7 separate regions of the Homo sapiens genome follow, and regions 2, 3, 4, 5, 6 and 7 are each linked to region 1. Evidence: promoter capture Hi-C in 16 types of primary human blood cells and fetal thymus (Javierre and others, 2016). All regions are on one chromosome and are shown on one strand. Each heading gives the region's core, a stretch centred on a gene start or on the middle of the fragment in contact. The rest is flanking DNA. Distances are from core to core; before and after follow the strand shown.

Region 1 (2,972 bases), core at 473-2,972:
TGTCACCAACTGCACTGGCTGAACCAGCCATGCTAGCCACAGACCCCTGACTGTGACCAAGGGGAATAGGTATACATATTTTTAATTTTCTTGTTATGGATTTATAAGGTAAGAAGGAGAGGGATAAGGATGATAAAGTATATTTAATTTAACATGTTGTTTGTTTCATAACTTCTTTTTTTGGATTTTATTTTTTATAGAGACAGGGGCTCACCAAGTCTCCCAGGCTGGTCCCGAACTCCTGGGTTTAAGTGATCCTCCTGCCTTGGCCTCCCAAAATGCTGGGATTACAGGCCTGAGCCAGCACATCCAGCCTGCTTCATGACTTCTTTCTTTTTTTTTTTTTTTGAGACGGAGTCTCACTGTCGCCAGGCTGGAGTGCAGTGGTGTGATCTCGGCTCACTGCAACCTCTGCCTCCTGGGTTCAAGCGATTCTCCTGTCTCAGTCTCCCGAGTAGCTGGGACTACAGGTGCGTGCCACCATGCCCGGCTGGTTTTTGTATTTTTAGCAGAGATGGGGTTTCACCATGTTGTCCAGGATGGTCTCGATCTCTTGACCTCGCGATCCGCCTGCCTCGGCCTCCCAAAGCGCTGGGATTACAGGCGTGACCCACCGCACCTGGCCTGAGCTACCGTGCCCGGCCCACAACTTCTAAATATTCAGATGAATAGTATGTGGGTCTTCCTATGAACCCTTGCCCTAAAACATGCAGAAGTTAGGAGTCGGCCTGTTTCCAGGCAGACTTTCCTTCCTGATGCTTTTGCCTCCAGTGTAAGCAGGGCCTGACCAAGACATGGAGCACCTTTGGTAGGCTAATAACTTGATAATCCACCAAAATGAAGGTTTTTAAATATTTTCTATAAATACGAATTGAATACCTCTTTCTTTACCCTTTCAAAGGTGGCTCCACAAAAGTAGAATCACACTTCCTGTGAAAAGTGTTTTAAGTTTTCTCCTCTAGAGCTCTGTTGACATCGGCCATAGCGAACTCTGTTTATTTTTCCTATTATATAAGGAATTACAAGTTGGAATCAGAAGTAATTGGCATCCTAATCCTGATTTATTCTAGTGGCAGTGTTTTGGAGTCACTTAACCCTGTCATCCTGGTTGGCCGTCCCTTCTCCCAGCTCTAACGGTGAGCAGCTGATACCCTGCTAGGTGCTGGAGAGTCAGAGGTGGACATCAGGGCCCACCTCGAAAAGTTGACAGTCTGTGGTGGGCTGAAGCCAGTAGAAAGCTGCTGTAGGAAGGCAGAGGAGTGGCCCCTATCCCAGGCTTGGGGCTCTCAGGGAAGGCTTCCTGGGGGTGAGATGGGAGGGTGGGTCCATATGCTCTTGGACCAGAATGAGTAGCCCAGAGAAGGCAAGAGGGCTCCCAAGCAAACTTGTCCTATTTAATTTTTTTTTTTTTTCCTGCTTAGAAAAGCAAAATGCGTTATGAACAAAACAAAACAAAACAAAACAAAACAAAACAAAACAAAACAAAACAAAACGCTGTAGCAAAGAAAGCGAAAGGCTCCAGTAATCCTCCCTGCTCCTCCTCACCGCACGGATCCTGTGAGATACCCCGAGCATTGGAACCTGGAGAGCTTGGGCAGGCATTCACCCTCCTTCCAGCAGGGGGCGGAACGTAAAACGCCTTGTGGCCGACGCCCTCTCTCTTTCACACGTCACTGGCGTGACCGTCCGCGCTACATACTGCGCCTGCGCAAGGGCTGTGGCCCTTTTCCCACCCCCTAGCGCCGCTGGGCCTGCAGGTCTCTGTCGAGCAGCGGACGCCGGTCTCTGTTCCGCAGGATGGTGAGTGGATGCCTCGGTCTCGGGGCTTTAGATGCATGGAGGTTCCCTTTTCTTGCCCGTATGCCAGCCTAGGGCCCGTCTCGCGCGTCGCAGGGGCCGGATGGCGTTAGATTGCTAGCTCTGACTTGGTCGAGGTGCAGTTCCCAGCGTGGCCTTAAATGGCTGCCGCCCGGTGCGCGAACTTGGGGGGAGGGGTTGGCGAAGAAGGGTTGCGTGAGCTTGGACGGCGGATTGGGGAGAAGGGTGAGTTTAGTAGACAGCCTGAGTGCGGATACTGCCGTCTAGTGTGAGGGGGCGCTGGCAAGCGGCCGGGCGTGAGAGGTCGCAAGCAGTCGACCTCAGCCTAGCTGGGGAACGCCAGAATGGAGGGGGGCTGCAGGTCCTCGGGTCCCACTCGACCTCCGAGTACCGAGTACTTCGTGGGTTTTCCAGGAGAATGTCGGAGCCGGCAAGTCTTAGATTTAGGAAGCTTGTGCCCGTGGGCTGAGCAAGTGGCTTTTAAGCCAAAATTGTCAGTGGAGCTTGGAGGCCGAGGGGTCCCTGGGCCCCGGAAGCTCCTTTAACATGGAATACGTGCCTCCTGCCTCTTCCTCTAGAGTCCGTCGCCGGATGAGTTTTTAATTATTGGGGTAGGGCCCCAAGGGTGGGATGAAATGTTGCTTTAGCTGATGGGGAACAGTGCTGTTTTAGTGGGGGAATTACTGCTGAATGTGCTCTTGCCCAGTTAAGCTTTGTGGCAGGTAATTTAGGCTTTTGAAAAACATAACATGGGAAGCGAGAGAGGTACGTAGTTGTTATTTGAGGCTAGGTTTTCGAAGTGGGACATAGCGTGTTCCGAACAAACCGACGTTTGGCATCACTGATTGCTGTCTGGAGCAGTGCTTCGCAAAAGTTTGGCACAATTACCGGTGCTGGTCCTTGAAGAAACAAATATGGAAATTGAAAGCGTTTAAAACCTTTTGAAAGCAATATAACAATAATTTTATACCTGTTAAATGTAATAAATTGGGGCCTGCATTTTGTATGTTTCTTTTATTCCATATTTCTCTAAGGATTCATTTTTATTGTTTTATGAAACTACTAGTCTGTGACATGGAAGGTAGAGGAAAAAGATTCTTGACCCTAGTTGCTTGTGAAACCTGGGATTCTACAAGTGACAGTTGTCTGTTTAC
Region 2 (2,972 bases), core at 141-2,640, 850 kb before region 1:
TTGTTTTATAAAATAAAAGATTATTTGAGAGCACCTTTCGCTTTACTCTCCATGATCTATCAGATCACTCTAATGTTGCAAGGTTGCCATGTTGTGATACTATGTTCTGAATTGAATAATCCTTTTGAGTTAAACCAGTCATCCCAGAAGCTGTGAATCAGATTTTTTTTTCTACTTCTTTGGTTTCTTCACTGTAGAGTATTTTCTTCCATCTATAGAAAAATGTACTTTAAATTCAGATTCTCAGCTATGCTCAAGTGCCATATTATCTTGTATAGTTTAGCAGTTGTATCAAGCTTAGGTCATTTATGTTTTCTTTGTGCTTTTCTATTAATGATTACACAGTTGATAAGTAATCACTACCCCAAGAATACTGACTTGGCAGTGGTGTTCCATCTTTATTGACCAAAAGGCAAATTCAGAATTTGGACACTGTTGTCCCTAAATTTTGCTTTATTTTAAATGAGGTGTTTCTTGTGAAATTCAATTCTCTTTTTAAAGAAACATCTCACACAGAATATTGTGACATCAGGAATTCTTAGCATTATTAAAAGCATCCCTCTTTTTTTCAGTGTGGTAGTATGGTCTGCTGACTTGCAATACATTCTATTTAACTCTTAGTTCTGTTTAGTTTGCATTTATATGGTGCTGATTGCTGTATTTTGTTTTTACATTTCTAAAGTATGTAGTGATAAACATTTTTGGAGAATAAACAGAATTTTTACTTTGGGATTTGTCATACTAGAAAATTTAAAAATGTAGGGCTCTGATTATATAGTATTTCCTTATTTGACTTCTAAGCATAGAACAATACTGGAATAACTTAAGTTGCATTTAGTATTTTCAATTGTAATTAGCATTTGTAACTTCATCTAATAAAGCATTTGTGGTCTAATAAGTTAGAGCACTTTGTCTTTTATTTGTAGGATAAAAGTCTTACTGTTCCTGTTAGTTTGAATTATCTAATTATAATAAATGCTTCAAGTGTTAGAGGAAAAGTACAATATAATACAGAGTTTTCAATAAAGTACCTTAATTTTAATATGAATTATCAGTTTCTGATACAATATTATTATATATTGCTTGGAGGAAAGAATATTTATCACTAACTTGTGTTCTTAAAATAGTGCAATATATACTCTCTGTTTTTCTAACATTCTATCAGAATAACTCAGTCTCAGAATTCAAATCTTTTTTTTTTTTTTTTTTTGAGACGGAGTCTCCCTCTGTTGCCCAGGCTGGAGTGCAGTGGCGCTATCTTAGCTCACTGCAAGCTCCACCTCCTGGGTTCACGCCGTTCTCCTGCCTCAGCCTCCCAAGTAGCTGGGACTACAGGCACGCCCAGCTAATTTTTTGTATTTTTAGTAGAGACGGGGTTTCACCGTGTTAGCCAGGATGGTCTCGATCTCCTGACCTTGTGATCCACCCACCTCGGCCTCCCAAAGTGCTGGGATGCCAGGCATTAGCCACCACGCCTGGCCTAGAATTCAAATCTTAAAACATTGCTGTGTTGAATTTTTATTTTATGGCTGACATTTTTGTTTAATGTCATCTTTTTCAATTAAAAGGAGTTTTAAAATATATAATGTTGAAATCAAAGTAGCAAGTTTTTGTTTTTTTGGTTTTTTTTTTTTGAGACGGATTCTCACTCTGTCGCCCAGGCTGGAGTGCAGTGATGTGATTGTGGCCTCCTCCGCCTCCTGGGTTCAAGTGATCCTCCTACCGCAGTCTCCCAAGTAGCTGGGATTACAAGTGGATGCCACCACACCCAGCTCATTTTTGTATTTTTAGTAGAGATGGGGTTTCACCATGTTGTCCAGGCTGGTCTTGAACTCCTGACCTCAAGTAATTCTCCCTCCTTGGCCTCCCAAAGTGGCGTGAGCCACTGTGCCCAGCCTGAAGTGGCAAGTTTTTATATTTGAACCTACATTATAAATAGTGTACAATTTGTGACACAAGGTCAATTTGTCTTCTGATAATGTTAGTTGTTTATTTTTGAAATTTTAATTGTTTTATGAACAAACTGTGCTTTACTGGAAAAACACTTTATATATGTTATAAATTGCAAATGCAAAGACAAATGGGAAAAAATTATATCTTTGCTTAATACTAAATGAAGTAATTGGACCTTTTGTCCTAATTTTTTTTTGCCTTTCTCCACATATTCTAATGTTCTAAATATCAATTTCAGTTGCAGCTGTTATTTTAAAGGCTCTTAATTTCTAGCATGTAAACTAAGAACATTTTTTACTTCCCTGGGAACAACAACACACACAAAAAAAAGCCCTGAAAATTGTGAAAAATAAGCAAGTCAAATCATATCATTAGCAATATCTACTATAAAAATAAAGCACCTACTATTCTTAATTATACTAGTAACATTCTCAAGGAACAGATGGCAAATTCTATGTCAAAGTTTCAAGCATGGGCAGAATGAGGCTATTTACTAAGAAAATTTAATTTATGAAAATTAGGCACATCAGCAAAAGCTTTATCTGCTACATCAGTAAAAATTGACTGAAAATATGAATATGAAAAATAAAATATAAATATGAAAAAATAATTAAAAAAAATTTTTTTTGAGACAGGGTCTGGCTCTGTCGCCCAGGCTACAGTGCAGTGGCACTATCACGGCTCACTCCTCTGCCTCCTGGGCTCAAGCCATCCTCCTGCCTCAGCCTGCCAAGTAGCTGGGCCTACAGGTGTGTGCCACCACGCTGGGCTAATTTTTGTACTTTTTTTGACAAAAATGTATAGGGTTTCAACATGTTTCCAAGGTTGGCCTTGAACTCCTGAGCTCAAGTGATCCGCCCAGCTCGGCCTCCCAAAGTGCTGGGATTACAGGTCTGAGCCACCATGCTTGGCCCATAAATATGATTTTTATTGCTTTAAAAATAATTATGATTTGGCCAGAACTGAAACTTGCAGTTGGATATCATGATTCCAGAATTCTGATTAATAGGCTTTTGATT
Region 3 (2,972 bases), core at 223-2,722, 830 kb before region 1:
GTAACAAACCTGCACATTCTGCGCATGTATCCCAGAACTTAAAGTATAATAAAAAAATTTTTTTAAACTTCACCAAATTATATTGAGTTTTTAAAATATTTAGGCTGTTATATAAACATGAATTCATAATTGCAAATGAAAAAGTAAATCCAGGAGTTTGCTATCTCATAGGAGAAATAAACAACTGGTATATAAAGTAAAAATAATGTGCCCTGAAAGAACCTAAAGTGAAGTTTAAGGAGGTGAAGAAGGCAGAATCACCTGATGTGTTTGGCAGATACATATTTTACAGAATGAGTATCATTTGAGCTGGATAGTGCAGAAAAAAAATAAGGCTTACCTATGTTTATTTAGTATGGAAAGGCATTTGGATGGAGGAAGCAACATGAATGTGAAGGTATTTAGGCAACTCATAATTCCATGTGATTAAAGATTTGGTTGGATTAAACAGGAATGTGGAAAATTACAAAGGTAGACCAGGTTTAGATCATTTAACCCTTTAGATACTTTGGACTTAATTATAATAGCATAGTCAGTGGGGAGGCAATGAAGGTTTTTTTGAGTGAAGGTGTGCCTCTGAGTGATTAATTTGCCAATATTATTTAGGTGAGTTGAAGGAAAGGAGAATATAGAGACCAGAGAAGGGAAGGAGACCAGCTGGGCTGTTGCAGTAGTAGGGAAAAAATGACATAAAGTGATAGAAGGAAAGAGAAGGGGAAAGTTAAAAGAAATTGCAAGAGTAGAATGGGCAGGTCTGCAAAATATGAAAACATGCTGGGTTAATAACCCAGGGATATAAGCTTCGGTGGCTCACAGGATACTGGCTGGATACTGTCCAGGTTGACAGACCCGGGACACAAGATGAAGAATAGGCTTCTGAGGAAAGATGAGTTTTGTAGTCTTTTGAGGTATCACAGGGTCATTCATGTAAAAATATTTTTCAGAGAGTTGGACCCTTGACATACTTCCTAGGCTTTTATGACACCTCTCTTAACAATCCCATCTGTCTGTTCCTTACAGATATCTCTTTATTTGCCTCCCTTTAGATGTTGATAATTCTCTGAATTGCATCCTTAAGCCTCTCTGTTTTTTTCATCTACCCCAGAATTTCCCAACCATGTTTCAAAGCACAGTCTTACTGAATGAATGTCCCCTCAGCTCTTATAGCAATGAGCTGGGAGCAGCCTTTCCATTTATGCAGGTGGCCATACATTGATCATTTTCTATATATCATGACATGGAAAAGGTTGGAAGCAGTGCTCTATACTTGGGTGATCTTTGGCATCCATGACTTCTAGTCTCATTTTTACAATTCAAATGTATCCAGGCCCCAGGCATGTTTATACAACTCTACTAAATGTCTTTACTTAAACATCACATAGGCATTCCAAACACAGCCATGTAAAAACTGAATTCCCCCTTTTAGTCCTCAGATTGTATTTATTTTTTTGAGACAGTCTGCCTGTGTTGCTCAGGCTGGAGTACAGTGGCGCAAATATGGCTCACTGCAGCCTCAACCGCCTGGGCTCAAGTCATCCTCCTACCTCAGCCTCTCAAGTAGCTGGGACCACAAATGTGTGCCACCATGCCCAGCTAAGTTGTTATTTGTTTGTTTTGTTTGGTAGAGATGGGATCTCACCATGGCTGGTCTCAAACTTCTGGGCTTAAGGAATCCTCCCGCCTTGGCCTCCCAAAGTGCTGGGATTGCAGGCCTGAGCCAGTGCACCCAGTCTGGTCCCCAGATTTTAATCCTTCCTCTTTAATTGTCAATAATGGCACTATCACCACTTACCAACTTAGAGTCAGCAAATTAAGGGTCACTTTAGAATTTCACTTACCATACATACTTTTTCTCCTTCCTAAATAATCACTGACAGGAAGCAGAGAAGGGAAGGCAGTCCTATACTTACAGCTTTTCTCACTATTTTTTCCCTTTCCTTGTTGAAGTGAGGAAACATGGCTACATTGAGGCTGTGTACAGACGTACAAATTAAAAATGTGAGCTTTTGTTCTGCATTCTTTGACAGTGTTTTGTCTTGCCCTCCTATGCTCACTGCTATTCCTTGATGTTCCTTGCTCTCTTCTTCTAACCTCAACCTCAGTATGATTTAGCCAGAGAATCAGTCAAGGGATTGATGGATGGTAGAAGCTTAAATGTAAGTCCCTATAATATGTAAGTGGCCAGGATTTTGTTAGTTTGGGTTAGTTAACAAAGACAGCAGCTCAGTTTTGATTTGTCCCTCTTGTTCTTCAGCCACGAATTAGAACCTGTAGACTATGACTAGAGAGAATTGAATCAAGTGATCAATTAAGTTTCACGCATCAGGATGTTCCATGTTGCAGATGACAGAAAACTCAGCCCAAACTGATTTAATAAAGGAATTTTGTTGGCATACATAAGCAATAGTCCAAAGATAGGTCAATCTTTTAGTCATGGCTTGATAAGGGCTCACACTCTGTAGTTAATCTTCACAATAATAATAAATGAAATATTTGCATGAAAACTTAAGAATTAATGAAATTGCATAGTTTGTTCTCCTCACCTCAGAGTCAGACTTACTGCGTTTCACATCCCTGTTCCCTTGGTAGCTATTTTGAGTGTCTGGTATCTTAGTTTCCCTCTCTGTGTTTTTTTGTCTCCAATTGGCCACCCAGGCAGCATCTTTCCCTTGGAAGCCCTGCACTGGCTTAGGTCTGCTCTTCCTAAATGAGTTACTGATGGTGAGATAGAATTACCAGGATTGGCTTGGCCTTATTAAAACCCACCTCTAGGCTGGGCGCGTAATACCTGAGGATAGTTATTACATTTTAGTCATCCTTACGTTCCCAGTGCTTAGTACATAGTATGTGCTCAGTAAATGTTTAGTGATAACTGGGTTTTATCAGCAGTCTAAATTGCTTTAGATAAGTTATGCTATGGTTTTGAATGTTTGTCCTCTCCAAAACTCATGTTGAAATTTACAGGCCTGGCC
Region 4 (2,972 bases), core at 257-2,756, 750 kb before region 1:
AAATACTGCCTGGGTTATAATACACCATTATTATGGTGTAACACACCATATATTATAGTGTGATATATGACATTGTGTGACCTTGGCCAAGTTTACCTATCCTTTGTATGCCTCAGCTTCCTCATCTGTAAATAGGTCTGAAGACAGTACCTAGCTAAATGGTTGTTGTAAGGATTAACTGAGTTAAAACACACAGAGCAAATAGAGTAGCGTTTATCACATAATAAGGATTCAAATATAAGCTACTATTATGTTATCTTTGACACCCCTCGTTTCTACAGGAATAATTAAGAATCAATTATCCATCCAAGCATTTGGGAATTAATTTTAAAAAATCAATTATCCAGTTATATTTTTCAGAATTAAGATGTCTGAATATTTGAGAGGGGGCATTATCTGAAGAAATGGTTACCTCTTGGCCAATCTTATGGTACAAATACAAAGTCCATATATTCCCCTCCCCGCCTCCTTTTTTTTTTTTTTTGTTTGGTAGAGACAGGGTCTCCTTATGTTGCCCAGGCTGGTCTCTAATTCCTGGGCTCAAGTGATCCTCCCGCCTTGGCTTCCCAAAGTGCTGGGATTACAGGTGTGAGCCACCGCAACCTGGCCAATGTATTTTCCAAGCAATTACTATTCTTCACCTTGTGTGTAGAGTTTGTGAATGAAACAGATTTTTTTTTTTTTTTTTTTTTTTGAGACAGGGTCTTGCTGTGCTGTTCAGGCTGGAGTGCAGTGGTGCAATCATGGCTCACTGCAGCCTCGACCTCCCGGGCTCAAGCCATCATTCCGCCTCGCTTCCCAAGTAGATGGGACTTGCCCGGCCCGAAGCGGAACTACTGAGTTTCCTTATTTTGGAGGCAGTAATCAAATAAAAAATACCAAAACCTTAAATGATAATCAGTTTGCTACTTTATTTGGGACAAAAGAGAATTCTATATTTCATCCATCCATCACTTCACTGCTCAAAGACTTTGCCCCTTACCTATTTCTCCCTTCTTGGTCATAAATGTTAGGGCTTTATATGCAAAGCCCTGTGCTTTCTCCGATCAAGTCCAAAAGCTTGTATGAGCCACTCCTTGGATAAGAAGGGGATGGGGCCTTCTAGATGCTGTAAGTATCTCTTATATTGAACTCAGAATTGTTCTGACTGGCAGTTTATGAAGTTCTTCCCCTACTCCTCCCATCGCCAATTTTTCTTGCCCCAAACATTTATACCTCAGGGTTAAGAAGCCAGGTAAGTGAGGGGGTGTGACTCGCCCAGTCTTTCGTTGGAAAAAAGTGTAGACCTGTCAGGAAGACACAGCATAGAAAGGCTGCATGTGCTGATTTGAACTCGAGCCTCAGTAAAACATTGAAATGAATGAACACCAACCGGAAGGGAAAGAAGAGGGGAGGGGATAAGGAGCCTGAGGATTGGTTTGCCCCGCGGGATGGTCCGCGCCTGAGCCATGGGAGGCGGGGTGCCCGCCGGCAGAAGTAAACAGAGCGAGTACGCCTGCGCACGCTCTTCCTGGGTCAAGAGCCGGCTCGGTTCTGGGATTCTGAGGCTCCCCACCGCGGTCCGGCTTCTCTGGGAGACTGTCTACAAACCGACGAGAGGCGTCAACCTTTTACCCTAGGGGGCGGATTTGGGTAGGAGCCGAGCGTTCGGTCGGAAACGCCCCCTTCTTCCTCCTGGGCGGGGCAAGTGAGGCCAAGTACTGGGCCTCCAGGGCGTCGTACCTCTGTGAGACATGGCTCGCTGTGGGGAAGGCAGTGCGGCCCCCATGGTACTTCTGGGGTCCGCTGGAGTTTGCAGTAAGGGGTTGCAAAGGAAGGGGCCGTGTGAGCGGCGCCGGCTGAAGGCGACGGTGTCGGAGCAGCTCAGCCAGGATTTGCTCAGGTAGGAGGAGGCGGGAACTCTGGCTGCTTCAGTTCCTAAATCGCCCACCTCCGCCCCGAAGCTGAGGCTTCTTTCGGCTCTGCCTCCCCCTCCCTCAGCACTTGGTTCTCCTCGCCTCAGGCGACTGCGGGTCGTTAGCCAGTCTCCCCACTATTCCGAAAAGTGGCTTCGCTCGCCCTGAATAAACAATCCCGAGCACCTCGACACCATGTACCAGATTCAAAAGGAAAACAAAAAAAGCTTAGTCGTGTGCAGCACTAGTTTGCTAGAAATATCTCAACACAGGCACGCTTAGTTGTTTCCAATCACTAAGGTCGGGTGGATCCAGGTCCTGAAACTTACACAATTTTTAAAATAAGCTTATACTATTTTAAGAAAAATAATAAAATTAGGAAAACGATTATTTGAAATGAGGAAAGAACAATACTATAGTCTTGGAGGTCTCTTCTGAGGTCTCTTTAAACAATTTACCAGAAATGCTTCCTGATTGCGACCTGGATTCCTCTCTCCACCTAGAGCTCTCTGTAGCTCCCAGCAACTCTCAGCTCCTGTGAGGACCAAAGCAAATGGAGGGTCTTCCTGACATTTAACCTTTGTAAGCCTCATGGATATCCTTCTCGGGTTATTGGGAATCCAGCTAAAGTAATTTCAGCTTACAAAGAAATTGAAGCTTAGAAATATGACCTAGCTAATTTACATTTCCAGCAAGACATTGATTCTTAAACTTGGGTGGGCATCACTGAAATTTTCCATTTCTAACAAGGCCCCAAGTGATGCTAATGCTGCTGGCTAGGGTGACTATGAGAACCACTGAGGTAAACATAATTACTAATAATTAAAAGTTGTGCAGCATTCTACTTTTTTTTTTTTGGAGACGGAGTCTCGCTCTGTCGCCCAGGCTGGAGCGCCGTGGCGCGATCTCGGCTCACTGCAACCTCCACCTCCCGGGTTCAAGCCATTCTCCTGCCTCAACCTCCCGAGTAGCTGGGATTACAGGCACGCGCCACCACGCCCGGCTAATTTTTGTATTTTTAGTAGAGACGGGATTTCATCATGTTGGCCAGGCTAGTCACGAACTCGTGACCACAAG
Region 5 (2,972 bases), core at 228-2,727, 620 kb after region 1:
TAAATAAACGAAGAAATTATTTTGGAATAGAGGCAATGTAGAAAAATGTTAGAAAGTGTTGTTCAATCCTTCACAGGCTTTTCACTGCATGGTACAAAGTTAAGCATTTAAAAATTGGCTATAACCCACTTGGAAGAGGGCATTTGTATGCTTAAAGTGGCCTCAGAAAAGGACAGCAGAGAATTTAGGAAGATTAGCAACTGGACTGTCAGGCGAACTCAGGCTGTTGGCCTCAACTCCAAGAGGGAGCGCAGCTAGGCAAAAGAATACGGATTAAGCGGAAGAGGTTGGAACACCTGTCCAGGCCAGGTAGGGGAGGAGTTTCAATGCTGACAAAGAACCCGTTGGGAGAGCTTCCTAAAACACCCAGCTGTCATGACGCACTGAGGAGTACTCTACTAGTTGACTGTTTTGAAGTGTGTGTGTGTGCGCTTGCTTGCTTTAGGAGACAAGCTATTAATACTAAAGCATATGTTAGGGAGTTGCTCAGCGTACTTGATATCTAGTAGCACCAGCCAAACTAGCTAACAGCCTTTCCATGGAGATAGGCCAGGAAGTAGCTCCATAGAGAAAAAAGGAAGTAGTGGACCTGCCTCCAAGGTTCCGATACTGGGAGGTGAAAGAGATCTGAAGTTCCGAATAAGCTGTTTACACTACCAGAGAAAAATCTGGCTCCCATCCAACCCTCACCCACGAGGTGCCCATTCCAGACATGGGGCAAGCTGCCTTCTCATCTTCCGCAGGTGACAGCTCGGCTCACATTTGTCCACGTCTTCCATCTCGTGCGCTGGCAACATACCTAAATGATTACTGGAAGAGCTGCCTCTTTTTATAATTTCCTGACAGAATTTATAAAATTAAAATATTTAATTAAAGACAGAATCGGGGACATGTTGCCTTCACATTTGCTGTTCAACCTGTGCACATTTTGGTGGTTCCCAAGAATCGTCATGCCAAAGCATCAGGCTTGAAAGGAGAGATCACCTTAAGCATCAAGATTTAAAAAAATAAAACACAACTCTCCTCAGTCTAAACTCTAGGATTTGGATGACGCTTCCCTGTCAAGGTTTCTCCCGAGTGGAGGAGACAAGAGGCAGGAAAGGCAGGTAACTAAAATTGCCTCATGTAAAGGGGCTCAGCGCAGAGGAGGAATGAGATAATAGCGGCGGTGGGGGTCTTTTCCCTTCTCTCCCTTTCTATCTTGGAAACAGGGGTCCGACTGGCAGCGGAGTGGGGGCAGTCCAAGCTCCGGGGTACCTGCAGGAGGAGACTCGACCAGCGAGAGGGGCCAGCGAGGGTGACCAGGTGCCCGCTTGGGGACCCCGCCGGCGGTGGCCAGGCTAGCCCAGGTCCTCCCCGATCCCAGGATGCACTGCGCCCCGCCCCCTCCCCGCGCCGCGTTCCGCCTCCCCTCGGCCCCGGCCCCCTCCCGCCCAGCGCGGGGAGGCGGGGACGCGTCGGCGGCGGAGGCTTCTCCAGTCGCGTCTTTCTCACTCACTGGGGAGCCCGGCGGTGGCGGCACCTTTCGAGGTAGACCCGCTGAGCTGCTAGCCCGCCGGCCAGCGAGTGAGAGGTCGGACAGACTGTGGAGCCGACAGACTGAAGGACAGCGGCACCGCCAGACGGCCAGAAAGTTCCGCCATGAGCTGGGGCACGGAGCTGTGGGTGAGTCGGGGAGAGGGGCGCCCCGCACGGACCCCGGCCCCTGAGAAGCGCGGGTTGGGCGGGCGCCGCGGACCCTCGGCGGTGAAAGCGCGCTCCGCCGTCCTCGGTCCGGCGCTGGCGGAGGGTGAGGGTCCCGCTCGTCTTTGTGTGCAGACTCCTCTTCCCTTCTCGGCCGGGGGTCTAGGGGGCCGCTAGTCCGTGCTCCCGCCTTTGCCGCCGTGGTGCAGCTCGGGCGGCGCCCGGGACGGCCGGGGGAGCAGCCCGCGGGCTCCTGCGTGCGCCGTGATCCCCTCTTGTTCCTTCTCCCTCCTCCACCTTCACTTTTCCCGACGCCTGGCTTCGCGCCCGGCGGCTCCTCTCTTCCTTTGTATCTCTCCTCCCGGAGGCGGGGGAGGGGGCCCATTGTCCCCAAGGGGCGCTGTTCGAGGGCGGGGAGGGGACCGGCCGCGATTCCTCGCCCGGGCCAGGTCCGCGGGGCTAGGGCGTCGCCCGTCTGGGGCGGCGCCGCCCAGAGCCCTCGCCCCAGGTATGGGGACCCAGGCGGCTTTGTTCGGAGCCCGGCCTCGGGCCAGCCAGGCCCAGCCCACACGCACATTTCTCTCTCCCTGCCTCAGTGCTTCGGGCGGGCACAGCTTCGAGGGACTCCGGTTTGGCCACCCCCGGCTGCAGCCTTTGGGCTGGTGGGTTGGTTTTGGGGGCTGAATTAAATCGAGTGATCGATGAGGAAGCTAATTTTACCAAAAGGAGCGTACGGTCTCCCTGTTGCTTTACTTCCCTTTCCGTTCTTTATTCTCACTTGTTCTTTCTCCTTCGTTCTCTCCTTTCCTTTCCTCCTTGCCTTTCTTTGGCACAGGAGGCTCCAGACAATGCCCAGTGTCTGGCCAAGGTACGGGCGGAGGGTAATAGGTCGGAGAATTTGCTCCTGGCGCCGGCGCGGAAGGGTCGAGGTGTGGAGGGCAGTGATTTCTCAGGTGCGGAGGGCAGTGATTTCTCAGGTGCGGCCGGGAGAACTGGGGGCGTGGGGGCGCTGTCCCGAGAGCCGCCTGGCCTCAGCCACTCCCCTTTTTATTCCACCTGTGCCTGTTTTCCGTGCCTTTTGTTCGCGAGGATCTCGTGAAATCACTGCAGAGAAAGGGGAGAAATAACTTTTGAGTATGTGTGTGCCCAGCTAGGGTGGGAGTGAAAGCCAATGGGTTAATTGAAAGGCAAAATGTTTTCTTATTTTTCACGTCTACTCATAGATTGGGAATCTTAGAACTGTGAGACTTTAGAGTCCATCTAGTGAATGCTTTACTTAGCCAGCCAGG
Region 6 (2,972 bases), core at 218-2,717, 540 kb before region 1:
TTCTTCAGTAGTAGCTTTGCTATGCCCAATCCAACCTCCCAAAGCAGAGGCTGAGCAATGCCTTGCCTGATACTCTTCCAGACTACCATAATGCTATCAGATTTAGTACTGCAGACACCACAGAGGTAACCCTTGAAACATGTTTAGAGAGAAAATTCTAGATTTAAGCAGCAGATAGGAAGGTTAGGCAAAAAGGTATAGTTTTCAATATAGCACATGAAAAATAGTATGACATTCAACAGAATATTTACTGGGTACCCACTCTGGCCAGATACTATAATCTTTCTATGAGCAGCAGTATTCACATTGGCATTGCTATTATTGGTTTAAGCAGAGTACTCACTAATTAGCTGTAAACTTTACTTTGGTGTAGTATTGACATTTTGAGGTAACCATCAAGGCATTTAGAGATACAACAAGAAGTACTCTGATATCAAAATTCTCATTACCTGTTTGTAATGGCTGAAGCAAAAGAAGAATACTTTGGGATATCTGTTTTCCAGAGGGCTCTTCAATCAGTTCAAGCAAACCCAACAATAATTCCTTTGGATTGCATAACTATAAAAATATTCACAATTGAACCTGTTTAATACAAGTTGTATTTAAAGCCACATTATTACTATTTTTAAGAAGGCATGTATCGACAAAATATTATACAATTATGTTTTTGCTTAACATTAAAATTATTTATACAATTGTTGAAAAAATATGCATGAGCAAAACACAGAATCTGTGATGGTCAAGTAACTATAAAACTAAAAAGCAAGAAGTCAATGGATCTTTAGGCTCAGGTTTCCTTTGAGCTTCACCTGTCCACTCTGAAATTGCCTTAACAGATTCTCAGGGGCTCCAGCAGGTGGGACCTTTCAATCCCATGCTGCAAGCCTATTTAGACTAGTCTGGAATCTCTTTTGTATTTTTTGAACAGGTAAAACTTTGCATTGCTTTCTGACTGGCCATATCTTATCATCTCACTTGACTGGTTTTTTAAAAGCTCCCAGCTCCCATAGTCAATAACTCATACAGATGGAGCTCTCCTTCCAATATATATTTGGGTATATTTGCACTGATCACTAAACAGTTTCTTATAATATACTTTTTCTCAGAATTTATCTTTCTTGGCCATCAAATATTGACTGTAAACTCTACTAGCCTTTTACCCAGGGTCGCTTTCTAAGGTTGTTAGTCACAACTGATCTGTATTCTACCCTATTCCTACTTCAATTTTAATCACTTGTATTCTAGGCCTTCCATTTTCTTTTAGGGAACATACCACAAAGGAAAGAGGACTGAGATTTTAATCTAGTTCCAATGTTGCCAAAAGATAAATGTGACCTTGAACTACCTCTCTAAAGCTTGTATTCCACATCTATACGATAAGGCTACTTGTTAAGATATAGCTTCCCAGGTCTCTCCCTGGAGATGCTGAATCAATGGGTCCGATATGAGGTTAATATGAGGTTAGACAATTCTTTTATCCAGAAAATTTGGGAAATCCTGAAATGGAATTGCCTATCCAATCAATAAGACTGGGTCTTTTCTCCAACGAGTTCCTTTCTGCATGTACTTTCATGAACCAAAAGCTTTCTTACCAAACAATAAACATTAAAGGGAATTATAAAATACTGCTGTGTGTTATGATAAAGAGAACCTTGTTTTGTTAACTTACCTTTACCAATAAATCAAAGATCAAAAAATAAACTTTTCTTTTACTATCCTCTTTATCTTTACACAAAAGGCATCGAACAACAGGACCAACGAGATTCCAGCCCATATTCTTGATGATGACCTGTAAAAACATTTTCAGAGTAAAGCAAACACTGCCATCTATAGGACTCTCGCAGTGTGCTTTCCTATCTTGGAAGAGCTCAGAATTGTTTCTGAAATAGGAAGATGAGACAAGTGAAGCCTATGACATTTCACCAGAGACTTTCCAGGGTTGGCTACTAACAGACATCAACATTTTTAAATAGTTTTTAATATGTTCCCTGAGGAAAGGCAAAAGGGTCTTTACTTTTTATCAGGCAAGTTGGTGTTTCCCAAGATTTAAATAGTGCCTCTATTTCCAACAAAAGAGTTAATTTGCTTAATACAGGTACTTAACTTCCACAGACAATTTTGCTCCCCTTATTCATAAAGAAATCCAGCCAATGCTCATGTACCTTTTAAAGTTCTTGGAGTCTCTAAATATAATCCTTGTAATTTATAAAAAAAAGAAGGGATACAACTTCATTAATTTTCTCTCCTACATACAAGTGGCTTCTATGTTCAAAGATATTTCAGAATGCTTACCATACAAGTAAAAGTTTATCTTTATAATGACTAATTCACATTCATTATCAAAACCACTAATTCTCAAAGGATCAACAATGTATTCCACTTCTCTGGCCTGCTTTGTATTTTAACTCATCAGTATTTACCAAGCCTACACTATAATATTCTAGAGGTTAGAAATAAAGTGAGGAACACACTGGATAAGATCACTACCCTCCTAGAGTCCTTCTTTAAAAGCACGGTGGTTGGCTGGGTGCAGTGGCTCATGTCTCTAATCCCAGCACCTTAGGAGGCTGAGGCAGGAGGATCACTTGAGCCCAGGAGTTTGAGACCAGCCTGGGCAACCTAGTGAGACCCTGTCTCTGTTTTTTAAAGTTAAATACATTCTTATTTATTTATTTATTTTGAAACTGAGTCTCGCTCTGTCGCCCAGGCTGGAGTGCAGTGGCGCTGTCCCAGCTCACTGCAAGCTCTGCTTCCTGGGTTCATGTCATTCTCCTGTCTCAGCCCCCCAAGTAGCTGGGGCTACAGGCACCCGCCACCATGCCTGGCTAATTTTTTGCCTTTTTTTTTTTTTTTTTTAGTAGAGATGGGGTTTCACCATGTTAGCCAGGATGGTCTCGATCTCCTGACCTCGTGATCCGCCCACCTCAGCCTCCCAAAGTGCTGGGATTACAGGCGTGAGCCACCGCACCCCG
Region 7 (2,972 bases), core at 165-2,664, 520 kb before region 1:
TAGTACCTGGCAGGCTACACACATACACATACACATACACATACACATACACATATACATATACATACACATACACATACACATACACATACACATACACATACACATATACAAGTATAAAACCCAACCTGTGAATTTAACAATCACTGGATGCCAGAACATGAATTAAACAAGTTTGTGTTGACTTTAATGGGGACCTGTCCTATAAATTAGCAAGGTTAGGACATTGCATAATGAGAAACTGTGAGCAAAAGTGAGAAAATAAACTTGTGGGAATGGGTTGGGATATTGAACATTGGCCCACTTGAAATTTGGGAAACGAGAAGATAACAATAGGTAAATAACAAAGGGCCAGGCTGAGTGTGGTAAACCCTCAAGTATTGGGGAGCCATCAAATGTTTTTGAGCAGAATTTATTCTGATATTGGTGTACAAAATGAATTAAAGAAGAATCATAATTAAAAGAGCTAAAAGGGTCCTTAGAGAGATTTAATCCAACCCCTTCATTAAGTGTATTTCTTAAACTAGTGATCCGTATGAGACCAGGATTCTATTTATTATATTCCACTTGATTAGAAGGAAACAGTGAATAATCTATATATATGCATCTGCCTCATTGTATAGCATAACTGTAGCCCTTAATTATATATAACACTTGTCAGTGTATAACCATATCAGTATCTTTTATATCTGGATGCATTTGTGTTACCTTAATTTCCAAATTCTTAGGGGCAGGGATTATGTCCATGCTATTTAATGAATCCACTAGAGGTCACTGTTTTTTCAGACATCTTTTTACCTGTGCCAAGGATCAGAATTCTAGAATTTTGTATTTTTAAAAGCTTGTCTAGCTATTGCACATTTAAGCTCTACAGAAATGTGATATTTTAAAGAATGTCTGTTTACATATGGCATGGGATACAATATCCTGAGTCAGTCTTCCTTTAGGGAGGAAAAAATTGCTTCTTTTAAATGGTGGCATGTAGTATTTAATGCAGAGATATTTTTATTAGCTTACAATGAGTCATGATAAAGAATAAATTGCATCATAATAGTAATTTTAATAATCATAATTTTAAAATAATAATAAATTTTTATGGCCAGGTGTGGTGACTCACGCCCGTAATCCCAGCATTTGGGAGGCCGAGACTGGTGGATCACCTGAGGTCAGGAGTTCAAGATCAGCCTGGCCAACATGACAAAACCCTATCTCTACTAAAAATATAAAAATTAGCCAGGAGTGCTGGAACATGCCTGTAGCCCCAGCTACTTGGGAGGCTGAGTAAGAAGAACCGCTTGAACCTGGGAGGCAGAGGTTGCAGTGAGCCGAGATCACACCATTGCGCTCCAGCCTGGGCAACAGAACGAGACTAAGAATAAATTGTTAAATCCACCCAAAAGATTAGATATCTTATTGAAATGACTTCCAAACTTTCGACCACTATAATAAGTGCATTTTACATTATCTCATATATGCATATAACTAAAACTAAAGCAAAACTTCTGTGAAACAATATTATTCTTACTACATGAAATGCCTCTGATATTTTCTACTCTGTTGCTTTTTTAAAATGCTGGCAGCAACCTACTTAATTGATTGGTCCTGATCTGCAGTTTGAAGAGCGCTGTTTTGTTGGATTTAGCTCACGTTTTTGGTTGTTTTACTGTAGGAAACCTGCTTCTCAACACTAAGTCTCAGTTTCCTCATTTGTAAAAGGAAAAAGTTGCATTCAACTTCCGAGTTCCCTTTGGTTCTAATGATTTACAGTTCTAAGCCAATTGTGTCATTAGTCATTGCTACTATAGAGAAAGTTTTCTACATAAGGAAATATTTATTAAAATGATGAAAATTAAAATTATCTGCTTAAGACTAGAGAAACTTATACTACCTTGTAGAAAGGTCTGTCTCAATAATTTTGAATAAAGTTACTGACTTTAATAATTTGATCTCTTTAGTCTGTAAAAGTGAAGGCTGATAAAATGTAGATCAAAGCTTTTAAATTATGAAGAAAAACCAGGCATGTTTTAGAGCATGTCCTGAACAATTTGAACTTGGCATCACTGAGGATGCCATGACCTTACACACCATTTGGAAACAGAATATTGAATTTGACCTAATTTGGTCTTTCTTACATTATTGTGAAAGCCAGTAAGTACAGGCATATCTTGGAGATATTGCAGGTTTGGTTCCAGACCACCACTATACTAAAGCAATAAAGCAATCATGGATTTTGTTTCCCAGTGTATGCAAAAGTTATGTTTCCACTATACTGTAGTCTTTTAAATGTGCAGTAGCGTTATATCTTTAAAAAATAATGTACATACCTTAATTTTAAAATATTTTATTGCTTAAAGATGCTACTGATCATCTGAGCCTTCAGCAAGTATTAATCTTTTTGCTGGTGAAGGGTCCTGTTTTGATGTGGATGGCTGCTAACTGATCAGGGTGGTGGTGTCTATAGGTTGGGATGGCTGTGGTAATTTGTTGAAATAAGACAACCCCAGGTTTGCTGCACTGATCGACTTCCTTTCACTAAAGATTTCTCTGTAGCATTAGATGCTGTTTGATAGCATTTTACCCACAGCAGAACATCTTTCAAAATTGGAGTCCGGCCAGGAGCAGTGACTTATGCCTGTAATCCCAGCATTGTTGCGGGGCAAGGCAGGAGGATCACTTAAACAAGACATTTGAGACCAGCCTGGGCAACATAGAGGGACCCATCTCTACAAAGTATTTAAAAAATAAAAAATTAGCTGGGTGTGGTGGCACACAACTGTAGTCCTTGTAGCTACTTGGGATGCTGAGACTAGAAGATCACTTGAGCATAGGAGTTCATGGTTGCAGTGAGTTAGATCACACCACTGCACTCCAGCCTTGGCAACAGAGCAAGACCGTGTCTCAAAAAAAAAAAAAAATTGAAGTCAGTCCTCTCAAACTTCATTGCTGCTTATCAGCTAAGTTTATGGAATATT

The links. The method cuts DNA at HindIII sites, captures the fragments that hold promoters and counts their contacts. A CHiCAGO score of 5 or more calls a contact.
Region 2: a fragment that was not itself captured here is called in contact with the fragment with the promoter of RPL5 in region 1 in 1 of 17 cell types (total CD4 T cells); the score reaches 5.5 in total CD4 T cells.
Region 3: a contact is called between a fragment that was not itself captured here and the fragment with the promoter of RPL5 in region 1, in 14 of 17 cell types (naive CD8 T cells, activated CD4 T cells, naive B cells and 11 more). The highest score is 18.4, in naive CD8 T cells.
Region 4: the fragment with the promoter of BTBD8 here is called in contact with the fragment with the promoter of RPL5 in region 1 in 1 of 17 cell types (naive CD8 T cells); the score reaches 5.3 in naive CD8 T cells.
Region 5: the fragment with the promoter of FNBP1L here is called in contact with the fragment with the promoter of RPL5 in region 1 in 2 of 17 cell types (total CD4 T cells and fetal thymus); the score reaches 9.3 in total CD4 T cells.
Region 6: a contact is called between a fragment that was not itself captured here and the fragment with the promoter of RPL5 in region 1, in 1 of 17 cell types (naive B cells). The highest score is 5.1, in naive B cells.
Region 7: a fragment that was not itself captured here is called in contact with the fragment with the promoter of RPL5 in region 1 in 13 of 17 cell types (M2 macrophages, naive B cells, megakaryocytes and 10 more); the score reaches 19.7 in M2 macrophages.

What each region holds. Positions count from the first base shown.
Region 1 is chr1:92,830,318-92,833,289 of GRCh38, forward strand. It overlaps RPL5 (ribosomal protein L5), which reads left to right and starts at 1,723. Exons shown (of 8, transcript NM_000969.5): 1 at 1,723-1,800. The coding sequence starts at 1,798. It also overlaps a transcript of DIPK1A not described here. RefSeq lists enhancers at 1,472-1,521, 1,525-2,163, 1,692-2,011, 2,164-2,801. The HindIII fragment of the contact is 14,223 bases long and covers 1-2,267 here.
Region 2 is chr1:91,982,073-91,985,044 of GRCh38, forward strand. All of the region lies in intron 12 of BRDT (bromodomain testis associated), which reads left to right. Among named protein-coding and RNA genes, the nearest start is that of BRDT, 34 kb to the left of the region's middle. The HindIII fragment of the contact is 2,193 bases long and covers 295-2,487 here.
Region 3 is chr1:91,998,446-92,001,417 of GRCh38, forward strand. The region is part of intron 15 of BRDT (bromodomain testis associated); the gene reads left to right. Among named protein-coding and RNA genes, the nearest start is that of EPHX4, 30 kb to the right of the region's middle. The HindIII fragment of the contact is 1,349 bases long and covers 799-2,147 here.
Region 4 is chr1:92,078,839-92,081,810 of GRCh38, forward strand. BTBD8 (BTB domain containing 8) reads left to right here and starts at 1,507. Exons shown (of 18, transcript NM_001376131.1): 1 at 1,507-1,882. The coding sequence starts at 1,734. RefSeq lists an enhancer at 2,780-2,972. The HindIII fragment of the contact is 1,063 bases long and covers 1,058-2,120 here.
Region 5 is chr1:93,446,641-93,449,612 of GRCh38, forward strand. It overlaps FNBP1L (formin binding protein 1 like), which reads left to right and starts at 1,478. Exons shown (of 17, transcript NM_001164473.3): 1 at 1,478-1,665. The coding sequence starts at 1,642. RefSeq lists silencers at 352-646, 1,586-1,635 and an enhancer at 1,127-2,105. The HindIII fragment of the contact is 14,675 bases long and covers 1-2,972 here.
Region 6 is chr1:92,289,749-92,292,720 of GRCh38, forward strand. GLMN (glomulin, FKBP associated protein) reads right to left here. Exons shown (of 19, transcript NM_053274.3): 4 at 1,670-1,789; 5 at 450-558. Among named protein-coding and RNA genes, the nearest start is that of GLMN, 7.8 kb to the right of the region's middle. The HindIII fragment of the contact is 228 bases long and covers 1,354-1,581 here.
Region 7 is chr1:92,309,519-92,312,490 of GRCh38, forward strand. All of the region lies in intron 6 of RPAP2 (RNA polymerase II associated protein 2), which reads left to right. It also overlaps a transcript of GLMN not described here. Among named protein-coding and RNA genes, the nearest start is that of RPAP2, 12 kb to the left of the region's middle. The HindIII fragment of the contact is 1,151 bases long and covers 840-1,990 here.